Regions from separate parts of the Homo sapiens genome. Here region 2 is linked to region 1. The links are contacts of gene promoters, found by promoter capture Hi-C in blood cells and fetal thymus (Javierre and others, 2016). All regions are on one chromosome and are shown on one strand. The core of a region is centred on a gene start or on the middle of the fragment in contact, and the rest is flanking DNA. Distances in the headings are between cores, read along the strand shown. Region 1 holds the start of WDR5B (WD repeat domain 5B). Region 2 overlaps MYLK-AS1 (MYLK antisense RNA 1).

What was found. The method cuts DNA at HindIII sites, captures the fragments that hold promoters and counts their contacts. A CHiCAGO score of 5 or more calls a contact.
Region 2: a fragment that was not itself captured here is called in contact with the fragment with the promoter of WDR5B in region 1 in 8 of 17 cell types (fetal thymus, naive CD8 T cells, non-activated CD4 T cells and 5 more); the score reaches 10.6 in fetal thymus.

Annotation. Positions count from the first base shown.
Region 1 is chr3:122,413,504-122,417,469 of GRCh38, forward strand. It overlaps WDR5B (WD repeat domain 5B), which reads right to left and starts at 2,559. Exons shown (of 1, transcript NM_019069.4): 1 at 1-2,559. The coding sequence starts at 2,025. The coding sequence ends at 1,033. WDR5B-DT (WDR5B divergent transcript) reads left to right here and starts at 2,703. Exons shown (of 3, transcript NR_125405.1): 1 at 2,703-2,747. RefSeq lists enhancers at 2,104-2,303, 2,539-3,356, 2,574-2,813, 2,844-2,893, 3,054-3,253 and 1 more. The HindIII fragment of the contact is 1,055 bases long and covers 2,153-3,207 here.
Region 2 is chr3:123,587,806-123,593,114 of GRCh38, forward strand. The region is part of intron 2 of MYLK-AS1 (MYLK antisense RNA 1); the gene reads left to right. Among named protein-coding and RNA genes, the nearest start is that of MYLK-AS1, 4.9 kb to the left of the region's middle. RefSeq lists a silencer at 3,023-3,223. The HindIII fragment of the contact is 1,187 bases long and covers 1,721-2,907 here.

The DNA of each region.
Region 1 (3,966 bases), core at 1,309-3,808:
TGAGACATGAGAACTGCTTGAACCCGGGAGGCAGAGGTTGCAGTGAGCCAAGATTGTGCCACTGCACTCCAGCCTGGGCACCAGAGACTCTGTCTCAAAAAGAATCATGGCAAAGATGCAGAGTAAAGGCACAGCTTATACACTGTGGGGAGGAATGTACATTTTACAACCTCTGGAAAACAGTATGGAGATTTTCCAACTAAAAACTACCATTCGATCCAGCAATCCCACTAGTAGGTATCTACCCAAAGGAAATTATATTTTAAAATCACCTGCACTGTTTATCGCAGCACTATTCATAATAGTGCTGTTTATCGCAGCACTATTCGTAATAGCAAAGTTATGGAACCAACCTAAGGGTCCATCAAGAGATGACTGGATAAAGAAAATGTGGTGTATATACTTATATACATATCCAGATGACTGGATAATGTGGTGTATATACTTATATACATACACATACACATATATGCATACACACACACACATACACACCACAGAATACTACTCAGCCAAAAAAAAATAATGAAATCTTATCTTTTGCAACAACATGGATGGACCTGGAGGCCATTAAGTGAAGTAATGATACAGAAAGTCAAAAACCACATGTTCTCGTAAGTGGGAGATAAACAATGTGTACACCTGGACGTGGAGAGCAGAATCATAGACACTAGAGCCTTCAAAGGTGGGAGTGGGGTGAGAGATGGGAAAGTATTTACTAGGTACAATGTATACTATTTGGGTGAGGGTATACTAAGCCCAGATTTCACCACTATGCAATATATCCCTGTAATAAAAGTGACATAAATCCATAAAAATTACAAAAAGTTGCTCAAAAAAGATTGGTAGTCAGAAGCTGAATTCTAGATGTGCTTTTTCAACTATCTCATTTTGTAAATGTAGTGTATGAATCTCAAAATTTAACAATAGACAATTTTTAAAATACCAAACTGCCAAAATTAAAAGAAACCGTCTTTTTAAATATCCAAGTTTTTTGGCCAACTTGGCTCTACTACTTGATTTTCAAAGGGATTAGTGGTTACTCATCCACAGTTTAATTGTTTTGTCATTTTCTAATGCTGCTGATGCGATGAGGTTTTCTGTAGGATGACAAGCTGCTGAGATCACAACATCTGTATGGCCTTGTAATTTCTGCACAATCTCTTTAGTCTGAAGGTTCCAAATGTAAACCAGGTTATCCTCGGAACCAGACACAATCCACTTTCCACCAGTAACTGAAAAATTGGCAAATATGCAATATTTCTCATTCTTATGACCAGTGTATGTTTTCAGGCACCTGCCTCTGCTATAATCCCATAGTTTAAGAGTGTTGTCCAAAGTTGCAGTGAGAATGTATTTACCATTTGGAGAAAATTTTACAAAAGAGACAGGAGGGTTATCGTCATCAACGAGCGTTTTTAAACACTGACCTGATGCAGCATCCCAGATTCTACAGAGGCCATCATAGCTACCTGACACTATCAAGGACCCACTACAATTAAAATGAACAGCAGAAACTGGGTCAGAATGAGCAGACAAAGTCTTGAGACACTTTCCTGTTTTCACCTCCCATATTTTTACAGTCTCATCAAAAGATCCCGAGATTATAAGGTTGGATGGCGGATTGAAGTTACAACAAAAGACATAATTACTGTGCCCCTTCAGTGTTTTCAAACATTTTCCAGATCTCACATCCCATAATTTTAGAGTTTTATCATCTGAGGCAGAAACAAGACGACTGGAATCTGATGACCAGGCAACATCCGATATTTCCAAATTATGACCATAGAGTGTTTTCTCATATTTTCCATCATATGCTCCCCAAATTATGATTAGCCTATCAGCAGAAGAACTTGCTAGCCATTCTCCATTAGGACTAAACTTAACTGATGACACTGCTTCCGTGTGTCCCACAAGAGTACATTTGAGAGCATAGTTTGGGTTTTCAGGCACTTCCTTGCTCTGATTGGCCGATGAGGAGAGGGCCAACTGTGCTTTGGCGTCTCTTGACTCCTTGGTTGCCATGGCTCTGAAGCTCCAAGTTAGCAGGTGTACTAGGCGTTCAGCCCTGAACCAGGCAGTCCAGTACTTTGGCTTTCTGCCCAGCAAAATGAAGATAAACGCACAGGATTTTAAAATGTACAGTTTTGAAAGCTTAAAGTTTCTGGACAGTCTTTAAACTGTGAGACGGAATCAGCAGCACGGCTTGGACTTCAAGTTTTCATCTTTTTGTTAAGTACTTGAGAAATACTGTTAGAAGGATCCTGTGCGCTGTCAGCAAGTAGGACACAAATGTTCGGCATTCCGTTAATACATAAAGCCTTCAAAGCAGGGGCGACGCGAGGGGCACTCTCTACAGAAAGTATTCTTTCACCGCCGCCCCCCTCCCCAGGTCGAAATGTTTCGGAATGCTGAGCAGCCCTACCAGTCAGGCTAGGTACTTGAAGATGAATGAACCGCCGCTTTTAGCGGATTTCAGAAGCTAAAAGCCTACGAAGCCACCGAAACTGGAAACTCTGGCCTGTCGGCTACTTTTGCTCGTACCAGCAGGTGTGCACTGCCGCGTCAATCTCCAACAAAGCCGGAAAAGCAGCCTGGCGCATGTGCAAAGGAAGTCCCTCCTACCACTACCGAGCCGAGATGACCAATGGGAGACGGCCATCTGCGCCTGCGCAAAAAAGTCGCCAATGTTCATTTCCGGTCTTTTTCGCCCCGCCCTTCAAATGCGAAAGCGACTGCCTTCTTGGGTGAGTGCATTAGCTGGGTAGGGTCTGTCCCGGACCTAACTGGATAGTGTGGGAAGCAGTGGATCGTTGTTTCAAAAACCATTTCTTTTTGGAAATTGTCACAGAGAAGGACTAGATTTGCGGATGCCTACCTTAGCTGCAGGCTTAGGCCCACACCTGACGCGTAAGCTGCCTAAACGGCAGCTAACGTAGATCCACCCAGACGCCGGAAACGGGGGAAGCTCCTGCTTTGCATGGGTTCCGCTCCCTCCTGTTTGTTGTGGTGTGGAGCCAGGTGGCATGTGTGGCGATGGAGTCACGGGGCGGGTGACAGAATTTATGCCAGATTGTAAAATTCCTGGTTTAAGTTTCCCCTGGAAAAGTTTCGTAAAGGTTAAGAAACGTGTCTGTTGAGGTCCTTTAAAAGCCGGTGCTCTGCTGGGAGTAACGAGCAAACGTTTGTTTTAGCATCTACGGCTTAAGCTTCCATAGAGAAGTCGGTATCTCAAAGTTGCTTGAAACAGAAAAGGACAAAGAGGTTGGTGGAATAGGGTAACGGATAAGGTTACTCTTAAGGAGGTTTTAGAGAGCTTTCCCCAGTTTTAGGAGATGATTAATGGTCATGAAAGTGTGTAAAATATACATGCTATTGAAGTTGCAACGAAAGACATAATTACTGTGCCCCTTTAGTGTTTTCAAACATTTTCCAGATCTCACATCCTATAATTTTAGAGTTTTATCATCTGAGGCAGAAACAAGACGACTGGAATCTGATGACCAGGCAGACTTTTAAACAATAGGTTTACCAAAAAACTGGAAGCCCTACTAGTTTCTCCAACCTGTTGTTGCTCAGTAAAGAGTGCCCGAGGCCGAGCACTCACGCCTGTAATCCCAGCACTTTGGGAGGCCCAGTCGGGCGGGACACTTTAGGTCGGGTGTCCGAGACCAGCCTGACCAACATGGCGCAACCAATACTGCTAAAAATACAAAAATTAGCTGCGCGTGATGGCGCACGCCTGTAGTCCCAGCTACTCAGGAGGCTGAGGTGGGAGAATGGCATGAACCAGGAGGTGGAGGGTGCAGTAAGCTGAGATTCCACCAGTGCACTCCAGCCTGGGCAACAGTGAGACTCCGTCTCAAAAAAAAAAAAAAAAAGAGTGCCCAAGAAAAGCAGAAAAAACGTGGCTTAAAAGATTTTACTGGTGGCTGGTCACGATGCAAATGTCTCATCAGCGTCAAG
Region 2 (5,309 bases), core at 1,064-3,563, 1.2 Mb after region 1:
CAAAGCCTATGTCTTAGCAGAATTCAAGCTCCTCTTATCCTTCTAACCTGGTGGCTTTTCATTAGTTTTACAAAAGTGGTTTAGTTTTGGGGAGGGGCTATTATCGCTTAAACTGTAAACTAAGTTTCTCCCAAAGTTAGCTTGGTGCAAGCCCAGGAATGACCAAGGGCAGTTTTGGAGGTTAAAGATGAGAAAGGAAAACCCCAGATTCACTGAGCCAAAGGGAAAAGTCAAGCTGGGAACTGGGTCACACAAACCTGCCTCCCATTTGGTTCCTAAATAAGATAGCTACAAAGATAAAAGCTATATACTTCCCTCACATTTTACCCACAAGGAAATTCCTTTTAGGCCCAAAGATCTTTACTCTAAAACAGTTCTGTTGAATTTCAACCTGGCAATGTAAGTTGATATCTTCACAGGTATGGGACATAGGACAGAATTCAAAGTCTTCCCTCTCCTCACCTGAGACAAATGCATATCTGATTGCTTCCTCTGCCCTATTGTCTACGTTATCTTATGTAAAAATACAGATTAACTGAGCCAGACTAAGGCATGAATATTTCCTCCACTCCCCACTCACATGAAAATTGTGTATTCAAAAGGATGCAACTGTTTTATCTTTTTATCTACTGACACAATTTAAAAATATTTCTTGGCTGGGCGTGGTGGCTCACGCCTGTAATCCCAGCACTTTGGGAGGCCAGGCAGGCAGATCAGGAGGTCAGGAGTTTGAGACCAGCCTGGCCAGTATGGTGAAACCCCATCTTTACTAAAAATACAAAAATTAGCTGGGTGTGGTGGTGCGCGCCTGTAGTCCCAGCTACTTGGGAGACTGAGGCAAGAGAATCGCTTGGAGTTGGAGGTTGCAGTGAGCCGAGATTGCGCCGCTGCACTCCAGCCTGGTGACAGAGCGAGACTCTGTCTCAAAAAAAAAAAAAAATTTCTCTTCCCCCAGTATCCACCCTTTCCCCTTTAAGTACTGAAGCCCTCAAAATCATCTTTGGAGATAGGCATATACCTGCCTCCCTGGCATGCATCCTTTACTATGGCAAATAAACCTCCTAAAATGATTGAGACTTGCCTTGATCGTGTTCTTTGATTTACAGAGTCAAGGTGGGGGCTGGTTAGATCAGATCTCTCTCAGTCATAATTTTCTCACTGTTACAATTTTTGCAAAAGAAGTTTCAAGACCTCAAGAGATGAAGTGAGAGGCATAAGTTGACAATTGTCAGGGTCCCATCCTTTCCCGCCATGGCAGATTGTTCAGAGATTCTGTTGCCTTGTTTTCCTGAAATTTTTTTTTTTTGGAGACGAAGTCTTGCTCTTGTCCCCCAGACTGGAGTGCAATGGCACACTCTTGGCTCACTGCAACCTCCGCCTCCCAGGTTCAAGCAATTCTCCTGCCTCAGCCTTCCAAGTAGCTGGGATTACAGGTGCCTGCCCCCACGCCCAGCTAATTTTTGTATGTTTAGTAGAGACGGGATTTTGCCATGTTGGCCAGGCTGGTTTCGAACTCGTGACCTCAGGTGATCCACCTGCCTCGGCCTCCCAAAATGCTGGGATTATAGGCATGAACCACCACACCCGACCTTCCTGAATTTTTCAAAGAGCAAGTTGGTGAGCCCAAATTGCACACTGTGATCAGAGGGCAAAAAAATTTCTTTGCAAAAGAAATAAAGAAGTGAACCATTTTACAAAACCAAATAATCATTCATCTAAAAGCTTCTTTCATTCATTTGACTGATTTTTTTTTCAATATAATCTACTTAATGGGAAAGTAGGAGGAGGCAGGAATGCATAAAGTTCTGTTCAGTTGGAAATCAGTTTAAAACTCAATGTATCTTCTTGCAGTCACTTAGGCCCAACTCCAGTCTGTTGTTTATAGCAGCAATCTCCAACCTTTTTGGCACCAGGGACTGGTTTCATGGAAGACAATTTTTCCATGGACTGGGGAGGGAATGGTTTCAGGATGAAACTGTTTCACTTCAGATCAGCAGGCATTAGATGGAGCCTGCAACCTAGATCCCTCGCCTGCATGGTTCATGATAGGGCTCGTGTTCCTATGAGAATCTAATGCCGCTGTTGGTCTGGCAGGAGGTGGAGATCAGGTGGTAATGCTCACTTGCCTGCTGCTCACCTCCTGCTGTGTGGCTGGGTTCCTAACAGGCCATGGACCTGTACCAGTCTGTGGCCCAGAGGTTGGGGACCCCTGCTCTACAGTACAGCCAAAGTGATCTTTTCCACATACAACCTTGTTCGTGTCTACTACCTTCCTCTGCCCCACCCCTGAAGATATTTAAATGGCTTTTGATGACACTTAGGATAAAGCATAAAATATTTAATATGGTATACAAAAATCTGCATAGACTAGACCCTACCTGCCTCCTCAGTCTCACCATGCCCCTCCTAGTCATACTGGCCTCATCTTAGGTCTTCCATCGAGCAGTACTCCTTTTTTGCCTCAGGGAATTTGCACATGCTATTCCAATCATACCTTCCCAACAGTACCCCAAAGTCTTAACTCATTTCAGCATTAACTCAAAAGTCCAAGTTCAAAGTCTGATCTGAGACAAGGCAAGTCTCTTTCACCTACAAGCCTGTAAAATCAAAAACAAGTTAGTTACTTCCAAGATACAATGGGGGTACAGGCATTGGGTAAATGTTCTCATTCCACATGGGAGAAATTGGCCAAAACAAAGGGGCCACAGGCCCCATGCAAGTCTGAAACCTGGTTGGGCAGTCATTAAATATTAAACCTCTTAAATACTCTCCTTTGACTCCATGTCTCACATCCAGTGCATGCTGATTGAAGAGGTGAGCTCCTAAGGCTTTGGGCAGCTCTTGCCATGTGGCTCTGCAGGGTACAGTCCCAAAGGCTGCTTTCATGGGCTGGAGTTGAGTGCCTGAAGCTTTTCCAGGTCCAGGGTGCAAGCTGTTGGTGGATCTACCATTCTGGGGTCTGGAGGACAGTGGCCCTATTCTCAGATCCACTAGGTATTGCCCCAGTGGGGACTCTGTGTGGATGCTCCAACCCCACATTTCCCTTTTGCACTGCACTAGTAGGGGTTCTCCATGAGGGCTCCGCCCATGCAGCAGACTTCTGACTGGACATCCAGTCATTTCCATACATCCTCTGAAATCTAGGCATAGGTTTCTAAACCTCAACTCTTGGCTTCTGCACACTTGCAGGCCCAACACCACATAAAAGCTGCCAGGGCTTGGGGCTTGTACCCTCTGAAGCAATGGCCCAAGCTGTACCTTGGCCCCTTTTAGCCATGAGGTGGAGTGGCTGGGACACAGGGCACCATGTCTTGAGGCTGCACACAGCAGTAGAGCCCTGGGCCTGCCTAGCCCAGGAAACTATTTTTCCCTCCTAGGCCTCTAGGTCTGTGATGGGAGGGGCTGTCCTGAAGATCTCTGAAATTCCCTGGAGACATTTTTCCCCATTGTCTCAGCTATTAACATTCAGCTCCTTGTTACTTGTGCAAATTCCTGCAGCCTGCTTGAATATCTCCCTGGAAAATGGGTCTTTGTTTTCTACTGCATGGTCAGGCTGCAAATTTTCCAAACTTTTATGCTCTGCTTCCCTTTTAAACATAAGTTCCAATTTCAGATCATCTCCTTGTGAACGCATGTGACCGTTTGCTTTCAGAAAAAGCCATGTGACATCTTGAATGCTTTGGTGCTTCGAAGTTTATTCTACCAGATACCCTAAATCATCTGTCTCAAGTTTAAAGTTCCACAGATCTCTAAGGCAGGGGCAAAATGCTGTCAGTCTCTTTGCTAAAGCATAGCAAGAGTGACCTTTGCTCCAGTTCCCAATAAGTTCTTCGTCTCCATCTAAGACCATCTCAGCCTGGACTTCATTGTCCATATCACTATCAGCATTTTGGTCAAAATCATTCAACAATTCTCTAGGAAGTTCCCAACTTTCCCACATCTTCCCCATGTCTTCTTCTGAGCCCTCCAAACTGTTCTGACCTCTGCTGTTACCCAGTTCCACACTTGCTTCAACATATTGAGGTATCTTTATAGCAGTGCCCCACTCCCAGTACCAATCTTCTGTATTAGTCCATTTTCACACTTCGATAAAGAACTACCTGAGACTGGGTAATTTATAAAGAAAAGATGTTTAATTGACTCACAGTTCTGCATAGCTTGGGAGGCCTCAGGAAATTTACAATCATGGTTGATACAATTACGCTGTGTTTCCACCCACATCTCATCTTGAATTTTAGTTCCCATAATCCCCATGTGTTGTAGGAGGGACCCAGTGGGAGGTAATTGAATCGTGGATGCGGTTACCTCTATGCTGTTCTTGGGATAGTGAGTGAGACTCACAAGCTCTGATGGTTTTATAAGCATCTGGCACTTCCCCTGCTGCCATGTGAAGAAGGATATGTTGGCTTCCCTTTCCACCATGATTGTAAGTTTCCTGAGGCCTCCCCAGCCATGCAGAACTGTGTCAACTAAACCTCTTTCCTTTATAAATTACCTAGTCTCAGATATTTCTTCATAGCAGTGTGAGAAGGGACTAATACAATGGTGGACAGCAAAGGAGAAGCAAGCACCTTCTCCACAAGGCAGCAGGAGAGAGAGAGAGAGAGCAAAGAAGGAACTGCCAAACACTTATAAACATCAGACCTCGTGAGAACTCACTATCACTAGAACAGCATGAGGGAAACCATCCCCATGATCCAATCACCTCCCACCAGTCCCTCCCTCAACACGTGATGATTACAATTTGAGATGAGATTTGGTTGGAGACACACAGCTAAACCGTATCACTCCTTTTTTGCATTTATAATTTTTAAAATATCACTTATTCTTCCCCCTCTACTTACTGGAATTTGTACATCTTGCTTCTCTTCTTTTACTGGTTACCATAGAAATTACAGCATGGATCATTAACTCATTAAAGTCTAATATTAATCAGTACTTTATCATCTTCCTAAACAATACATAAACCTTTCAAATCTGTCTGGTCATTTTTAATAATCCCTTGTTCCTTGCCTATATGAATTTTTATGAATATATAATACCATGTATCTGTCATGGCACATTGTACATAATAGTTTCACTGCCCTAAAAATCTGTGCTTTACCTATTCATCCCAAACCAGCCTCCTCCCACACCCATAGTAACCATTGATTTTTTTACTGTCTCTACAGTCTTGCTTTTTCCAGAATGTCATATAGTTGGAATTATACAGGATGTTGCCTTTCTGTTGTTTTTTTTTTTTTTTCACTTAGCAACATGCACTTAAGGTTTGTCTGTGTCTTTTCATGGCTTGACAGCTCACTTCTTTT